Linked DNA regions of Homo sapiens: all the other regions are linked to region 1. Evidence: promoter capture Hi-C in 16 types of primary human blood cells and fetal thymus (Javierre and others, 2016). All regions are on one chromosome and are shown on one strand. The core of a region is centred on a gene start or on the middle of the fragment in contact, and the rest is flanking DNA. Distances in the headings are between cores, read along the strand shown. Region 1 holds the start of DPY19L4 (dpy-19 like 4). Region 2 has its middle 130 kb from the start of CDH17. Region 3 overlaps CFAP418-AS1 (CFAP418 antisense RNA 1).

What was found. Contacts are between HindIII fragments. The CHiCAGO score rates a contact against its expected background, and 5 or more counts as called.
Region 2: a fragment that was not itself captured here is called in contact with the fragment with the promoter of DPY19L4 in region 1 in 1 of 17 cell types (naive CD8 T cells); the score reaches 5.4 in naive CD8 T cells.
Region 3: a contact is called between a fragment that was not itself captured here and the fragment with the promoter of DPY19L4 in region 1, in 1 of 17 cell types (neutrophils). The highest score is 5.9, in neutrophils.

Annotation. Positions count from the first base shown.
Region 1 is chr8:94,717,588-94,721,676 of GRCh38, reverse strand. DPY19L4 (dpy-19 like 4) reads right to left here and starts at 1,777. Exons shown (of 19, transcript NM_181787.3): 1 at 1,663-1,777. The coding sequence starts at 1,678. RefSeq lists a silencer at 1,650-1,969 and an enhancer at 1,730-2,684. The HindIII fragment of the contact is 11,065 bases long and covers 1-2,331 here.
Region 2 is chr8:94,077,097-94,081,185 of GRCh38, reverse strand. No RefSeq gene overlaps it. Among named protein-coding and RNA genes, the nearest start is that of CDH17, 130 kb to the left of the region's middle. The HindIII fragment of the contact is 1,215 bases long and covers 1,737-2,951 here.
Region 3 is chr8:95,312,919-95,317,007 of GRCh38, reverse strand. The region is part of intron 1 of CFAP418-AS1 (CFAP418 antisense RNA 1); the gene reads right to left. Among named protein-coding and RNA genes, the nearest start is that of TRS-AGA2-5, 45 kb to the right of the region's middle. The HindIII fragment of the contact is 1,567 bases long and covers 958-2,524 here.

The sequences.
Region 1 (4,089 bases), core at 528-3,027:
TTTTTTAATGCAGTCTTAACTTTTTTAATGCTTTAAGTTAAGCATGAATGTACTCATAGGAACCTACAAGCTAGTATATCAACCTACCCCCATAAATTTGCAATTAGAAAAGAAAAATACATCAAGAAATATTTCAAATGATGATATACTGTAACCACAGACAGAACCAAGTAAACAAATGGAATTACATTCTTTCTCACCAACGACAAATAGCTTTGTTTTTGAAGCTGTTTTTAGTTAGAATGTCTTAAATTCAGACCAGCTTTAACACTCTGAAAACTCAATGGAAACAAATATGAACCAAGCCTGCATAGGGACAGGTCAGCAAGTCACACATCAGTAAACACTTCTTATGCTTAATTTTTAAAAATTGCTTTCCGCTGAATCCTTTAAACTCCTTCCTTGCACTCTTGATTCAGAAAGGCTTGAGTCGGCTGGACCCGTGGCTCACGCCTGTAATCCCAGCACTCTGGGAGGCCGAGGTGGGCGGATCACCTGAGGTCAGAAGTTCAAGACCAGCCTGACCAACATGGAGAAACCCCGTCTCTACTCAAAATATAACATTAACCGGGCGTGATGGCGCATGCCTGTAATCCCAGCTACTAGGGAGGCTGAGGCAGGAGAATCGCTTGAATCCAGGAAGCGGAGGTTGCGGTGAACCGAGATCGCGCCTTTGCACTCTAGACTGGGCAACAAGAACGAAACTCCGTTTCAAAAAAAAAAAAGGCAGGGGGGCTTGAGTCTAAATTAGATCGATTTACTATCACATCCACAGCTCCACTCATAAGGTAAAAAGTTGTGTTTTCCACCAGAATGCAAAAATCTAATTGCTTCTCACTTCCTGAAACTAGTAGGGGTTATCATGAAGTTACTATGCCATGAGTATTCCTTGTATTGTTTATCACTAACCGATAAGTTTCATCTAACTTCCCATTTTTGTCTCATACTTATCATTTTCTATAAATAAAATACTGCTGAATGAATTACTTATCTTAGCATTGATCCTGAAGGCGGCATGGAAACCTTTCTCCAGCTCACCCACTTTGACCCTCAAAGGCCTCCTGGCCTCATCATCTCCCAAAACTATAATAATTAGATGGCTCTGCTCTTTACCATTTTCCCCTGAACCTAAGTGAACTTGGCTTTCTTCAGTTTCTGCGTGTTCGCCCATTCCCAATTAATCTTGCCACGTTTATCCCAAATCCCTGCCTCTTTATCCCCGTGGTGAATGTTCCCTCGCCCCCTGTGCCTCTGGGTTTGTCAATATCCACAGCCCTTTAAAAATCGCATTCCAAATATGCACTGAGTACCTAAACCTGATCTTCGAAACCAAACTGCGCCTCCCACTTCACCAAGAATCTGATCAGGACCCTCCCTCTTTCCCAACCACTCCCGGCACAGCTTTCTCTCTTGCTACGGATTCCCAACTTTCAGCTCCACCTTTGCTTCCCAATTCGGCCGACAAAACTTCGGGCCATTTGCTCCGCTCTCCTGAATTTCTCCGCAGTCCTCTCCTGGGCGCCGCGCTCCTTCCCGCCCTGCCCGCGCGGCCGCCACCGCGACCGCGGCCACCAGCAGCTCCAACCCAGACCTCCAGCGCCCCCGCCCCTCCTTCCCGAGACCACTGGCAGCCGTTGGCGCGCTGGACCCCGCGGCAATCACCTTCTTCCTCCGCCATCGTTTCTGCGAAGGCTAGGGCGCCCTGCGGCTCCCGCGCGGCCCAGACTCTCCCTCCCTCCGCGTCGCCGAACCCCTCGGCCTCCGGGGGCCCGCTCCTGGCCGCCGCGCCCCCACTTCCTGACCCACCCCCCTCCGGTGTCGCCGCCAACCGCGTCCCCGCAGGCGGCCCGGGAACCAGAGTGTTGGGAGAGGGGAGCGGCCGGAGCGTTTCGCTGGGGCGCCGGGGCCTGCGCGGGCAGGAAGGAGACTCCACGCCGGGAGTGCAGCCCACAGCTGTAGCTCCTGGCCGCCGCCTGCCCTGGAAAGCGAGACTGGTGGGTCTCGCTGCAGCCCCGCCCCTCGTCCTACTCTTCCCAAAAAGTGAGGGCATGCTTTCCGCCACTTTTGTGACTCCGCGACTTAGCGAGTCAGAGACGATCATCAGCGACACCTCCCAGGTCCAGCCTCCATTCCCGCCCCATTTTACATGGAGGAAACTCAGATCTAATGTGGTGGAAGTCACAAAGCCGGTCAGAGGCAGAAGTGGAACCCGGTGCTCCAGAACTGCCATCGCTGCCTGCGTTCTCGCTGGGATTTCAGAGTGCAGCAGCAAAACGTTCTCAGTTGGCGCTTTGGTTTCGTAGGCCACTTGACCATTACAAGAAAGAAGCTTGTGCTTGGAACTTGTTTTAAATCACCAAAACTGGTTTAGCAAATATGTTGCATTTCATGATATTCTGGGGGGGGGGGCGGGGAGATAATACAATGGTCTGGGGTAGAGCAGTGTGCAATTAGATATTACAGAGCAATAGGGAATAATTTTAATTTGTTAAACTGTGTTTAACTTTCATTATATCTAGCATTCTTCAACAAACACCGGGATCTTTTCCCCAACAGTACTCAGAAGTAAATTTAGTAAATGAAATATACCCATTTTAGATCGGGAGAAACAGGCACGAGAATTCACTGAAGTCATGGGGTAATTATGGACACCCCATTATTAGCAGGCAGCAAGATTCTCCTAATAGCACCTTTAAGTTAGGATATTTGGGGAGAGGCTATCATTTTTCAGTGATGTGCAGAAACGGTTCCAGGAACTTTTTTTTTTTTTTTTTGAGACAGAGTCTCGCTCTGTCGCCCAGGCTGGAATGCAATGACTCGATCTAGGTTCACTGCAACCTCCGCCTCCCAGGTTAAAGCGATTTTCGTGCCTCGGCCTTCCCAGTAGCTGGGACTACAGGCGCAAGCCACCACTTAATTTTCATATTTTTAGTAGAGATGGGATTTCACCATGTTGGTTGGCCAGGCTAGTCTCCAACTCCTGGCCTCAAGTGATCCGCCCACCTTGGCCCCCCGAAGTGCTGGGTTTACAGGTGCCCACCACCACGCCCGGATAATTTTTTGTACTTTTAGTAGAGAAGTGGAGGGGTGTGGTTTCACCATGTTGCCCAGGCTGGTCTTGAAATCCTGACCTCAAGTGATCCACCGGCCTCAGCCCCACAAAGTGCTGGGATTACAGGCATGAGCTACCACGCAGGGCCTCCAGGAACTCTTTTTATGTCTGGTTCCCCGTAAAGATGTTTTTTGCCTTAAAACAACACTTTACCAGGAGTTAGAAACAGTGGACCAGAAAAGGCCTGGTGCCAGAGCCAAGAGAGCACAGAATATAAGGACCCTGAAAACCACAGGATATGGTAGGGTCCCTGGACATGAGCAACAGTACCTGAGTATGCTGCTTATCAGATCAGCTGACTGAAAGAGCTGCACCTCTTGGAAAACATATAGTAGCTATTGAGGTCTGCTGTTTTCTAAGTCTAGAGTCTTAATATCCTACAGTTTCTTCACGGTCACCTCAAGTTGACTAATGGACTAAATTTTAAGTTTGCCTGACCTCTACAATAACAGGGGAAAGAAAAATGATAGAAAAAAAATAGCTTCTTAAAATAACAAATGGAAATATAAGATAAGATAGAGATAATTATGCCCTAGTAGAAACATTCTTCTCTTGAACCCTAAAAACCCACATTAGGGCCGGGCACGGTGGCTCATGCCTGTAATCCCAACACTTTGGGAGGCTGAGGCAGGTGGATCACCTGAGGTCAGGAGTTCGAGACCAGCCTGACCAACATGGAGAAACCCCATCTCTGCTAAAAATACAAAATTAGCCGGGCGTGGTGGCGCATGCCTGTAATCCCAGCTACTCGGGAGGCTGAGGCAGGAGAATTGCTTGAACCTGGGAGGTGGAGGTTGCGGTGAGCCGAGATCATGCCATTGCATTCCAGCCTGGGCAACAAGAGCGAAACTCCATCACACAAAACAAACAAACAAAAAACACATAAGGATAATGAGAGTGGAGCATCTTATTCTCAAACCAGTGTAATCTTACTGTGAGAAAAATAGGCTGTTTTTATTAAAAATCTATATTTCATT
Region 2 (4,089 bases), core at 1,095-3,594, 640 kb after region 1:
CTGTTATGGAGGCACTGTCTCCTCCAACAGACTTTATCTTGTCACTGAAATGGTTGTCATTTGTAAGGCGGCTTCCTGGCAGTAATGTTTAGAGGTGGTGTCTTTCTTGGATTTCTTTCTTATTTTTCAGTATGCTGGTGATGGCCCTTTGCTTATCACAGTATTATGCAGCTGTGGAGGGGAGTGGAAGAGAAAACAGGAAAGAGTGTTTGCTAGAGCTCTGGGCACCTTAGGGACAGCACAATAATTATCATCTTCCCTTTCACGAGACTCAGAATGGCTGTGCTGCCCAAGGCCACATCTCTGTAACTGTGGAACCCATCACACTACAGTGCAGCAATACATCAGCACCGGAGAGGTGTCATGTGCCCTCCACCTGTCACTCACTGGCAGGCCTTCTGGCTCTCATCTCCCTGCCCTTCCGAGGCTGCACCGGCATGGGCTGCCCCCGGCCAGTGGCAGGCAGAGGGGCGGGTTCCAATGTAGGTCAAGATCATCTTTTCTTTGGGGTCAAGATTAGGGGAAACCGCGGCTCCATTTCCAAGGTGCTCTTCAGAAATGTGCAGCCTTGGGAAAGCAGGGAGATGAGCGCCAGAGGGCCCGCCGGCCGGTGAGTGGCAGGAGGAGTACACACAACATCTCCCCCGTGCTGATGGATTGATGGATTGCTGCACTCGAGGCTGATGGGCTCCACAGGGTCTGTCACAGAGGTGAGGCCTTGGGCAGCACAGCCATTCTGAGGCTGCTCTCCACTTCAGATCTGCTAAAGAGCTGTGTCACTAAGTCCTTAGACTTCTTGTCATGAAATAGATGAGTCAGCAGTGGGAGCAGCACCTACTGTCGGAGAGAAAACCAAGACATGGGTAAATTTAGACTGTTGCGGTGCAAGGGGCTGGGCATGCTGGCACGCCTTTAGAGCCACGTTTCCCGCAGAAACCAGCCCCCAGGTCACCGTGTGTGTCCCCAAGGGTGGGAGTTACCCCAGTACCTCCAGCCTGGTCCTCACTCCGGCTCTCATCCTCTCTGCGTTCCAACACCATTCTGGCTTCTCTGGGCTCAGGTGCTCTTGTTTCGGATTCTATCATTTCCCTTGAGGGGAGTGATATTTCCACAACTGGCCCCTGAGGCTTGTGTTTTGACTGTGTCCTTGGCTCTTCTTTGTCACTGCCACCCTAGGCTGCAAGCCCCTCCCTGGGTGGTGTCCTACACCTCCCCAGCCACCTGCAGAGACACCTGACCCTCTGCTGCCCTCTAGTGTCACAAACCATACCGCAGCACCTGGATGCAGAGTTAACTGGCTGTAGAGTTAACAGCCTTTTAAAGGCTGACAAGGAGCCAGTTCCTATACTGGCTCAGCTGCTTCCCACTAGGCTTGTTTAAAATCACCACAGCAGCCTGGTACGGCAGCATCGTGGGGTCTTGGGAGCCTTCCTGCATAGGTGGCTCCTAAGGCTCACTCCACAACCGCTTGCCTCTTTTCCGTATCTGCTTCTGAGTGTGTGAAATAAAAAAGCTGGAGGGCAAATGAATAACCCTCCTTTTCCTATCTCGGCTTTGGTCCCGACAGAGACCATACATAACACAGAAGGGAGAGAAAGAGCCCTTGTTTATTGCGTTTGCCATTTGGGACCAATTATTGAGAAATGGCACATTTACTGAGTGGACAGTTCACTAACTACTGTAGTGATTTCATCTCAAATGATCCAGAGTCTTCCATGAAAAGAGCATGGGAAGCTTTGAAGGGCCAAATAAAAATGAAGACTCCTCATCTGCATTTTTTAGTGTAGTACAAACCCCATACCCTAGTCCAATGCTTTTCAAACTTTAGTGGGCACCAACATCTCCCAGAAGAATTTTTTAAATCCAGATTCCTAGGCCCTGTTTTTAAAGATTCTGCTTTATCAGGTCTGGGCTAGTCCCCGAGGATCTGCATTTCTCACAAGCTCCTGTGTGGTGCTGGTGCTGAGGTCCCTGGACCTCACTCAGAGTAGCACTCCTCCTGTCTGCCAGCATCTCCCAGGAAAATGTCGTGGAGATTAGCATTTATGTAAAAAAAAAAAAAAAAAAAAAAAAAAAAACCCACAAACAGGAACTTAATAGCTTCTGATGTACAAGGTACAATTATGCAATAAGATAGTCTTATAAGCCAGGATTTTTTTTTGAGAAACAATTTTCCATATCTGGAAATCGACCCCTTCTTTTAGCGCATAAAAAGAAAAATCAGACTTGAAACACTTAGCAGAGTGCTAAAAGTATAATTGGAATATTTGTAACACAAAGAAAGGGTAAATGCTTGAGGTGATGGATACCTTATTTACCATGATGTGATCACTATGCATTGCATGCCTATATCAAAATATCCCATGTACCCCATAGATACACCTACTATGTACCCATAAAAATTAATAAAAAAAATAAAGAGCTGGGGGAGGCCAATCCAGCCAGCAAGTGCCACTGGATCCCAGCAAGCTGGGGGAGGTCAGATCGTGACTAGGGGAGCTCTCCAGGCACAGGCTTCTACTGCAAGGGCCAGGAGGGCAGGATGTACCCAGCCAACTAAGGAACAGCCTCCAGAAGACTAGAGAAGTAGAGAATGTTGCCCTGGGCCACTGCTGCTAGCATAGATGATGTCTTTGTGCACATTAGAAGAAGGTACTTTTTTGGGCGGAGGGAAGGCAAAAGGCACCCCCCTGGGGTGGCCAATTAGAAAGAGGTGCCCCTTTCTCCAGGTTGATGCAGCTCTGGCTAGGTCATGGCTTGGCATCTCAATCACACTGTGGCATGTTCAAGACCCAAACAGACCAACAGCAGCTAGACCAAATGCTTCTCTGCCACATCCCTCCCCCTAGACACCATGAGAAAATTAGGAAGAGCAGAGGCTAAGAGCATTTTTATTCCAGAGATTCCATCTACCTAAACAGGCTATTTAAATTACCAGAATGCACTAAGCTTTGAGCAGAGATAGACATATGACTAAAATTTTGTATTTTTTTCTGCTTGGAAAATAGGGGCTCAGGAGAAAGGCCAGGTTGGCGCTGGACTAGAATTTCTGGTAGATTGTTGGTGAAGATGGCTGCAATGATTCCTCCCGCCCCTCTGCACGCCCCTCTGCAAGAGAGCCATGCTGCTCCTCCCAGCCAGAGAGGGAATCTGTTTCTCCACCCCTTGAATCTGGGCTTGGCCATCTGGCTTTCTCTGGCCCAGGAAATATTAGTAAACATGAAGCAAGCAGAGGCTTACAATGTACTTGTGGCTGGGCCTTGCTTTCTCTCTCATCTGGGATGATGACCACGTGCAGAGAAGCCCACCTGAGAAGTGCAGAAGCAATTCGGCCCAAACCCCTGCACTAAGGGAGTCGACTAAACTCTAGCATTGCTTTTAGTAGCCCCCACCGCCCTCTTGAGTTCCTGTCTGAAAAGGGGCAAGGCTGCCAAATAACTTAGTTTGTCCCAGCCAACACCTGGAGACAAGCCCTAGACCTTACTTCTTAGAGCATTTATTTAAAAAAAAAAAAAAAAAAAAAAAGCTTACAATTGTGAATGCCTCCTCTGTCCCTGTGAGATGGATATGTATCTCTACAACCCAAGAGTGTCTTTCTCAGGGACTTGCAGGCCCTTCCTTTGAAATGAAATCATCAGAAAGTCCAGGGCCCCTGCCTCCCAGTCTCGGTGGGAGGGTAGGAGTCTGACTTTGATAAGCCCATTAGCAGACACAGCTGGCCTGATTGCGTTTATGTTGACCAACTCTCTACCTGTTTTTGGTTTTTTTGATTTTGTTTTTTTTGGTAAATTTTTCACCTCCTCACTGTGCTGAGCCCCCACTTGCTCCTTCTCCTTACTCCCTGATTCTCCCTTTAAAACACCCAGTCACCCCTTTGCAAATCTGAATGGAGCTCAGCTCTTGCCCCACTGCAGTAGTTTTTAAATAAAATATCTTGTTACTGCCTTTAACTAATGTCCAGCTCTGTTTGTTTTTGGCAGGCCCCAGCTGTCCCAGAAATCAATTCCTAGCTGAGTGCCCAGAGACCTAAGGGAAGTGATCTTAGACCTTCCAGTTCCAAACCAGCCAGCCAGCCCAGCTCAAAGAACC
Region 3 (4,089 bases), core at 492-2,991, 600 kb before region 1:
TGGTAAAGCACTAGCACAGTGTCAGGCACGTATGACTGCTCAACAATAATTAGTTTTCTCACCTACCTGGCTTTTCCATTCGCATTTCTTCTCAGCCATCTTCCAGCCTGGAATTAGCACTTCCCACCAACAACTCCATAAACTCCCCTCTAAGAAACATGCCCTGACAAAACCAACTCTGTCTCCACTTTGATTTCCACATAATCTGCATTATCTATAGTCTAAACTAACTACAAATATGCATGCTTTATCTGTAAATACTTCCTTTATCACATCCCTCATTCAGGCCCCATCCTGGAACCCAGAAATGTACACACAATGAATTCTCAATCACATGTGGGCAATTTTAATTGTTAGGTATGGGAAGAACTGGTGAAAATGCTGCATGATGGTAACAACTACCTGTTAGGCTGACTTAAAAAGAAGGATTTAGACATGTTAATAAACGATCTACACTTCGGTAACTATTAGTCATGCTTGCCCAAGCAACTCAAGAGTAAGGAAAATATCCATTTTACTAAATTACAAGACTAAAGAACTATTAGGATAATTATCCCATAACAAATGCCAGAAATAAGTGGTTATATTGACTTAATTTTATAGACACTTTCCAAAGTATATATTCTAGCCTTACCAAAAAAAGGGCAGTACCATTGCTCAGATTTTACTAATCCATGAGCCCCTGGGAAGAAAGCCCTAGGTTTATCCTATAATGGCAGCTGGCCACTTTTTCTGTGGACATAAAAGAAATTCAATTTCTCCGGACACTTTTTTCCTCTGCTACCAATGAGCTCCAGGGACTGGTAAACTCCTAAAGGAAAACTATTAAAAAAAAAAAAAAAAAAAACCATAATCCAGAAAAAACAAAATCTAGCTAGTTAAACTATCACCAATAAGAAACATAAACAGGAACCATTTTCAGTTGCTTGGAATCAAAAGCTCAATTTTTAAAAAGCTTCAAAACAAGAGTTTACTGTTTCCCGGACATCTGCAGTTGAAAAAACACAAAAACAGTTCTGGAAAGTGCTATGGTTTACTTCATACTGAGTGATTCCCAGGTGCAGAGGGGACTACTGGGGCAGAATAAAAAATGAAATGAGCATGAAGCAAAAGTTTTTCAGAGCCACATTCATATGCACCTTTCTCCAACCTGGTTGGTGACTCTTCAGGTATAAATGTGGCATGGGGTGGATTGTTCGAGAACAGCCTTATCCTTGGGAGAGTTTAATGTACATTTCCCTCTGCCAGGCTCCACACAGACTTCTAACTTGGGGATCCTTGGAAGAAGGGCCTGGCTTAATATAATTTGTCATTGTCCCCATGTCTGGAACAGCAGGCAGATTCAAAACCTTTAAGATGGGGAGTGCCACAGCTTTAGAAGCAGAACTGCCAACCAGCTGTGTATGTGCCTCAGACTGTGGAACAAGCAATAAAAAGAAAAAAGGAAGAAGAAAATTGCCAACTTCTTGCAACATGGAGCCAGAACTCTCAGAGCCAAGCTGGTCATTTTTCCACCCAGCCAGCCCCAAGGTTGGCATCTGACATCAGTGTGGAGAATGACATCAGAGAGTCTCCAGTCACCTGCCTGCCTGACAGGCTTGCTCAAGAAATGCCATGAGAGCCAGCAAAGATGCAAGGAGGAGAGGAGGTGAGAGGAGGTGAAAGGAGGACTGATGTCGGTCAAAGTTCCCTTGCTTTTTGTTAAACAGACTACTGTTTTGACCAACAATGTAGAGCTAGTTTTGCAGAACAAGATGAAAGAACAAAGCATTTTTATTTTGGAGTTCAGAAGGAAAAAATAAGACTAGCAAATTTAGATTTAGTTTCCTGATTTGCAAGCAAGGAAAACTGACCTTGGCTAGTGTTATGGACTGTAAGTTTGTGTCCTCCCCCAGAGTAAGTTCATATGTTGAAGCCGTAACCCCACAGTGTGGACTGTATTTTGAGTAAGGAAGTAATTAAGGTTAAATGAGTTCGTAAGAGTGGGACCCTGATCCAACAGGATTAGTGTTCTTATAAGAAGAGACATCGGGGAGCTTGCTCCCTCATGCATGCTCTGTCCTTTCTCCTCTCTTCCCACATACATGCACAGAGGTTTCTTTTGGCCATGAGAGGCCAAAGTGGCCATCTGCAAGCAGGGAACAGAGCCCTCACAAGAAACCATAACACAAACTTACAGTCTACAGCCCCTGCTGGAACGTCAATCTTGGACTTTCAGCCTCCAGAACTGTGGGGAAATTAATTTCTGTTGTTTCAGCCTTGCAGTCTGTGGCAGCCTGAGCAGACTAATCCAGATGGCTAACTCCAGCCAAGTGAAATGAGGGGCTTGAGGAACTGACCAGAAGCTGCAGAGCCAGCCTGGAAGCAGGCAGAATCCAAGCCAGCTCCAGAGAACCAGGAATCAAGAACTAAGCACTGGTCAGGGCACCACCACTGAACTACAGAAATTCCAACTGTTTCTCTCATTTTTCCATCACTCACTCAAAATTCAAAGTCCCAGGAAGATGTGTCTGATTTCTAAGCTTTGGTGATATGCCACACCCATACCCTACCCCAGGCTATGCCAGGATAGGGAGAGAAAAAATCTTGTCCTTTTCACTTCCATAACAGCTAACTGACATAGGGATTGTCCCAAGACATCACAGTGAGCAAAGCCTTGCCTCAAAAGGAAATCAGGATGTTTCTAGGAAGGACGAATGAATGCTAGGTAGTATAAACATTTCAAATGTCCATTACACTAATGATCATTACAAATTCCATCATTCTCCTGGTATGCATACTGTGTGTACCTAGGATAGATTTCTGTGGCTATAGATTCAGGAACAGTGAATCCCAGAGGGGCACCTGCCCACAGGCAGAACGACAGGGTTGGACTTTCCCTCTGAGATCCAGACCTACACAGCATCTGTCCATGTAGCTAACTTCCTGATGTCAGGACTATCTACATAGTATTTGGCAGTCCTTGATCAAAATATTGATAAAAAGAAATGTCACTGACTACTCTATACTGTCATTCATTCATCAGTTCCATCACATTCTAAATACCTTCTGATTGTCCAATTATGTTTGTTGAACAGCTGTTGTCTATCATGCTTTTTGCAAGGAGTTTTATCCACACCAGCTTATTTATTCTTTAAAATAGCCCATGAAGTCAAAAAGGTCAACACTGAGGAACAGAGAAGGTAACAAAATAGTAGTCTAGTTCCTATCCTCTATGACCTTGGAAAACAACAAAAACTACAAATTACATAAACACAAAATAACCAGAGGGTAAATAAGCGACCTATGAAGAAGTAGGAAATTGGTGTAAACTAATTGTACCAGTACCAATAAAAGTGGAAAATACCTGGTTTAAGGTCTTGAATCTGCCACTTGACCTCAGACAAGTAATGTCTTTTCTGGGACTCAATTTCCTCAACTGTTCAGTAAGGCATGTATTAAATCACCTATATGGGGACTTGCAGCTTAGAGAGGATGTCATTCAATGCCTCCTAATGAGTTGAGTAAACAGAGTGGTGTGGAATTAGTCAGGAAAGGTTTCTTGAAAGGGGAGACATTTTCAACCTCTTCTCTGCCCGCCTAGAGGCCAAGTCCAGTGATTGCAGCTCAGCTCAGGCCTTACCCTACTTGACACATCTGTTGCCTCTGCACTGCTGACTGGTCTACCTTGCTTCACATTTCCTCCTCCTTCATGTCCCTGCAGCTCTCTTCTCCTGGTTCTCTTCTTGCTCCCCGTTCTCTTCTTGCTCCCTGGACTCCCCTCTTCTGGCTCCTCTTCCTCAATGTACCCTTAATGCCAATGATCCTGAGATCTGTCTTTGGCTTTTCTCTTATTCTTCCACATATTCTGACAATTTCATCCATACCTGCAGCTTCAAATACTAATTGCACAGAGCCTTATCTTTCTCTTTAATGGAGATACCTTCCCCAAATTCTGGATTCATTTATCAACCTTTATCAACCACCTACTAGATAACATGTTCTCAAAGGCCTTGACTGCCCAGGTTCAAAACTGAACTCGGAATATCCCCATCCACAACCTTGCTTTTGCCCTGGTTCCATGAATGATGCTGCAATCTACCCAGGCAT